Linked DNA regions of Homo sapiens: region 2 is linked to region 1. Evidence: promoter capture Hi-C in 16 types of primary human blood cells and fetal thymus (Javierre and others, 2016). All regions are on one chromosome and are shown on one strand. The core of a region is centred on a gene start or on the middle of the fragment in contact, and the rest is flanking DNA. Distances in the headings are between cores, read along the strand shown. Region 1 holds the start of RAB6B (RAB6B, member RAS oncogene family). Region 2 overlaps NPHP3-AS1 (NPHP3 antisense RNA 1).

Region 1 (2,700 bases), core at 201-2,700:
GAGAGCAGGAGCCCCAGAGAAGTGGGTGGGTGTCTGGAGGGTTACCCTGAGCCTGGTGCCAGCCACAACGGGGCAGATATTCTAGGTGATGACTTACAATCCCTGGGGTTCCAAACTAAAGGTAATTATGAGAATAGGACAGTTATTTTGATTTGAGTTCTAGATGTTCATTCAAACATTCAACAACTATTTCTTAAACTCTGAGCTATGTCCTTGGGATGCAGTGGTGGAGCTTCAACTACTGCTTTTATGGAACTTGTGGTCAGGTTTCTAACAAGAAATAGGAAAGAGATTCGAGGTGAGCACACCAGGGAGACAGATAGGCTTGCCCAAGCAAGCCCCATAAGTCAAAAAGGGGGTAACAAGTGTCCACGAGAAATCTGGAGGTGAAGGTTGTGTCTCACTCCTCTTTCTCTTTCTATAACACATGCGTGCACACACCATCGTGTTCACCGACATGCAGATTATTATCTCAAATAAATGCTCACTGAACAGCCATAAATGAACAAGACCACGCTGTGGCAGAACAGTAAGGGACAGCTTTGTAAAACCTCAATTAACCAGCATGCCTTAGGCTCGGGCTGTCTTGGGAGTGTTTCTAGCACTTGGCGTCTGCTCTTTGCTCTCACTCACTCACAACTTGGTCTGTGTGCCTCGATGGACCAGGCAAGTAGAGGCCAAGGAGAGGTCGCCCACATGTCCTCAGATAGCTCATTGTCCAGATACACCTAATTGCCAGGGTGGGGAGTGGCATTGTCAGCCTGGCGACCCCGGGATCAAGAAACGCAGGGCACTGTCCTGGAGATAGTGGCACTGGCATTCAGAGCGTCACCGTTCCTTCTCTCCCATGGGGCAGGTTAGGATTTGGCATAAAATGATCCAAATGAGCAGCTGGTTTGAGGTAGGCGCGCCTGATATTGGCAGCTCCTCTCTCGCTGGCCAGGTCTGCGGGGGCACCCACAGACTCCACAAGAGGCCGCCCAAATAAAGGGTCTAGGCCTCGAGAGGGAAGGGCGGGCTAGAAGCCACGGGGGGCAAGAGTCGAGCCCCATCTGCGCCAAGTACGCCAGGTTTCCCTAGGTCTGACCGCCCTGACGGGCCTCGCCACACCCTGGCTCTCCCCCACCTTCGTTCCTTTCCGCCCTGTCGGTCGGACGACTGCGCTGTGCATCGGTGTCTCGCGAGGTGGAGGAAGGGACTGGCATCTAGGTTTAAAAGACCAGAAACAAATGTCCCCTGACAATTTCTGTCATTTTCTGGATTCAAAAGAGGGGTAGAGTGGGGAAGACAGACGCAGCGGGGCAGCGAGACACGGTCCCCCCCGGGGGGCTCTCAGGGGTACGGCGAGGAGGTTCTCTCCTGCCCGGGTGCGGGCTCGGGTGGGCGGGCGCACGCCCCCCAGCCCCGCAGCCCCGCGGGCCCCGCATGACATCAGAGGCTGGGGAGCGCACAGAGCGCAGGCGCCGGCGGAGGAGGCAGGCGGGAGGGGGCCGACTGGCGCGGCTCTGGAGAGCGCTCCTCCGCCCCGCGCGCCGTCCCTGCGCCCCGCTCCGCCCGCGCCTCTCTCCCAGCGCCGCGCCTCGGGCGTAAAGAGCGCGCCCCTCGCACCGCAGCCAGTGCCGACCGCAGCAGCCCAGCCCCAGCCTTCCTCCGCCTCCGCCTCTCTCTCCTCCTCCTCCTCCGCCGCCGGACACGCAGCCGCAGGCCGGGACCGGGACGCAGCTGGGGAGTCAGGGACGCGCGCAGCCAGCCCTTCCCCCTCCGGCTCCCGCACCGCCGGCCGCCTCCCCTCGCCCTCCTACTCTCCCCTCCCTGCTCCTTCGCTTTTTCCTCCTCCTCCTCTCCCGGCCCCGGCTGCCAGCACCATGTCCGCAGGGGGAGATTTTGGGAATCCACTGAGAAAATTCAAGTTGGTGTTCTTGGGGGAGCAGAGCGGTAAGTACCCGGCTTAATCTCTTGGCTTGTCGCCGAGTCGACCCCCGCCGCCCAATCGCCCACCCCATTGGGACCCCCGGCCCAGGCTCGGAAAGGCCCCTCCTTGCCAGGGTAGAGGAGAGGGACAGGGATGGGGAGGTCGGGGCGGGGTCGGGCTGGGGAGGGGCCAAGGGTGAGGACGGAGGAGGCGCTGGAGCCTGGGGTGGAGGTGAGGGTGGGCTCTGGGTGGGGGGCCCGGGGTGTGGGTGCAGGTGCGGCGCTGCAGGGGGCCCGGAGGGCGGCGGCTGGCTCCGCGGCGCTGGCCAGGGCGTGAAGGAACCGGGCTCGCTGGCTAGCTCACACTGCGGCACCGGCTGCGGGCGACCGCGCAGGTGGCTGGGTGCTGGCGGGGGTGGGGAGAGCGACGGGCGCCCCCCTTGGAGAACGAAGCGAAGCTGGGGTCTGGCCGGGCCTCACTCCGCTGCACTGGAGGGGTGTTCCCTGCGGACCCTGCTGGGAACCATGCGAAAGGGCACGTCCAGGGCGTGGGACAAACAGCCACCGGGGAGAAAAGAGCGACACCTGTCTCTGCTCGAAAGAGCGAGTGCAGGCCATGGGGGAACGGGGAGCCTACCTCCCCTGGCTCACGTCCGACTGGGCACAGAAGGTTCTAGACCCGCTGCCCTTCGCCGGCGCTTGTTAGTCTCCTTGCTGCCCAGGGATCTGGGCAATTGCAGTGAGGGCTACCCCAACTCGAGGCGATTTGGGGAATGATACAGGGGCACC
Region 2 (2,700 bases), core at 184-2,683, 1.2 Mb after region 1:
ACATTGATCTTAACATTATCAGAAATCTGTGTTCAAGAGTAGTTGTTAGAGTCTTTTCCATGAAAAGCAATTTTGGACTATAGCTCATTGTAAATGCTTTTAGTAAAGAATTCAAAATAATAACTGTGGATAACAAAAACTTAAAATAGTCATGTTTAAAATCTAGTGGAAGACAAAGAAATTTAGTTGTTTCTATTATATGTGGCATTTTAAAACAAAAAACAGAATCATGACTGACAGCATCACATCATGATTTCCAGACTTTTATAAATTTCATGTAATCTCTACAATATTCCTATTAATAATACATCCATACAAATATAACTTTGGAAAAGATTTAATATAGTCAAAATTATGACTCATAACATTAGATTTTTATAAATTTATATAATTCTGGGGATATTTATATCAATAACATGCCCATAAATATAACTGAAAGAAGATCTAGTACCATTTATCATTTGACAATGTTTCTCATACAATTTACCAAATAAGCCTAATAATTTAATATCTCTACAAGACATATTCTTTGAGGTTCTCCAGAGGTCTAACTAGAAAACCCTAAAGTTAATTTTAGGGGAAACAGCCTACTTTAGGAGTTGATTTGGGGGAAGTTTGTCAAAGATGTCAAAAGTTCCAAGCATTTGATGAAAACAGAATCGCCAGTCACTGTTAATTAATACTTATTCATTTAACCAGAGTGGTAATCAAAAGACTTCAAAAGCAATAAAGAAAGTTACATGGATGTAAAACCCTTAATCCTTTTAAAGAAACCAAAACCAAGTAAGGACAACACAGAAATTATCTTGATAAAAGGAAGTTTCAAAAAGAAATGGATTTTAGAATTTTAAAATAAAAATCTTTTGCAATTTTATTAAAAGAAAATGAATACTTTACAAAAACCTTGTTATAATACAGGGGACCACATTTTTTTAGTTTTGTTCTAGCATATTTTCAATGTCAAAGCTTAATCTTTAGAAAACTTAGAAATAATTTCTTTAGAATTATAGCCAACTTAATCACACACAAAATTGTTTTCATAAATTCTCTTTTCACGAACCTTATCATGACATAGGCAGACCATTGAAAACACGCTTGGACTTTCTGCTTTGTCCTGTATTTCCTCTTTCTTAAATAACCAGTCATTTTACATTAGGACAAAACTTTATCATATGAGATTCTTTCTCATACAAAATTATTCTCTTTTCTTTTTAACCTTCCTTACCAAAAATGCATCTTCATATCCATAACCTTCTTCATATTTTTCTCTCCTAGTTACTTGTTCCTTTTTAATCTTGTTTCTTTCTCCTTCCTAAGTCCATATTTTGAAACAACCTTTAAGTAACCTACAAATTAGACAAAATTATTTTTTCTTTCTCAATAAAGAACACATTTTTATAATAATTTTTATAATAAAGAACACTTCTTATAATTTTTTCTTATCAAAAACACATCTTATTTTTGGCACATTCTATATATAAAATTATATATAAATATTAATTAGAACTTTTAACTCTCAGTAACCTTACATTTTAGTGACAACCTCGACAACAAGAATCTTTGCTTGTCACATATCAGTGTCTTATAAATGAAAACCATTTTATAATCTTTAGAAACATGTTTTCTTATAATATGTTTACCTTAATTGGAAATGACCCAGACATTTAATAGTATCTATTATTTAATTTAACATAGCTTTAAGATTTCAAATTACATGAAAAGTTCCTCTAGAGGTGTATCTCATTGACAGTTATCTAATTTATTTATTTTTAACAGCTTACCTAGAATATTTATGAAAACTGAAATATTAGACAAAGCTAGTCAACATTTCAAGTTATTTTACTGCTAACCACGTTTATAGTCTGTGAATATCAGATATTCACTTAAGTAAGAAGCTTAAAGTTAAATTTATGGATATTTTGCCAAAAACTCAGAAGATGGTTGTTCTTATTAAACTAGTCTTACATGCTAAAAGATCTATTCAAGTGATATGAATTTACAAAGTATTTTGGCTTACTAATTGATGAGTGCTTATTTATTTATAAACCAATTTGGTACCATGTAAACAATATACAAATACAGACATGTGTACATGTACATATAAAAATACAAACAGATGCAAATAAAGATTTTATAGCTTTGCTTTTAAAATTTTATTCATGAGTCAGGTAAAACTCACCAGCTTAAAAGAACAGTTGAATTAAATTGTGCCTCTGTAAATACAACAAGTTAATCTGTCTTCCATGGCTGAAGATCTTACCGAGTACAGTAAATTTACATCTCAAGGCACAGAGACATAATTTAAGTTTTCTAAAAGGCCAGTGAAGTTTTATATCTGCAAGGGACTGTGAGGTCTAGCAGCACATTTAAAGAGTATTATCTGATATTTGGTAAAAGGTTTAATCAGGTTTACTTCCACTTTAATGGAGGTGGCTGTATGTATTTTACTAATGTATATGGAAGACCACAAATGGTTTGGCAAAGCTAGCAATAAACCATAAAATGTGTTGATCATTAGTACCACTTTAGAAAAAACTTGTTGGATCTGTATTTTTAGAATCTCAGTAGTTTCATTCTCATTCTGCAGTTGTTCCATTTGCTCCTTCTGTTTTAAATTTAAATACATTTTAACTCCCTTGAAAGAAGTAAATGAGTCCATTGTGAAATTCCAAAAATCTCTGCCTAAGAGATGTATGGGAG

What was found. The method cuts DNA at HindIII sites, captures the fragments that hold promoters and counts their contacts. A CHiCAGO score of 5 or more calls a contact.
Region 2: a fragment that was not itself captured here is called in contact with the fragment with the promoter of RAB6B in region 1 in 4 of 17 cell types (naive B cells, M0 macrophages, non-activated CD4 T cells and 1 more); the score reaches 11.3 in naive B cells.

Annotation. Positions count from the first base shown.
Region 1 is chr3:133,894,632-133,897,331 of GRCh38, reverse strand. It overlaps RAB6B (RAB6B, member RAS oncogene family), which reads left to right and starts at 1,450. Exons shown (of 8, transcript NM_016577.4): 1 at 1,450-1,935. The coding sequence starts at 1,866. RefSeq lists a silencer at 1,431-1,480. The HindIII fragment of the contact is 7,968 bases long and covers 1-2,700 here.
Region 2 is chr3:132,731,970-132,734,669 of GRCh38, reverse strand. It overlaps NPHP3-AS1 (NPHP3 antisense RNA 1), which reads right to left. Exons shown (of 11, transcript NR_002811.2): 3 at 1,226-1,346. Among named protein-coding and RNA genes, the nearest start is that of NPHP3-ACAD11, 11 kb to the right of the region's middle. The HindIII fragment of the contact is 929 bases long and covers 969-1,897 here.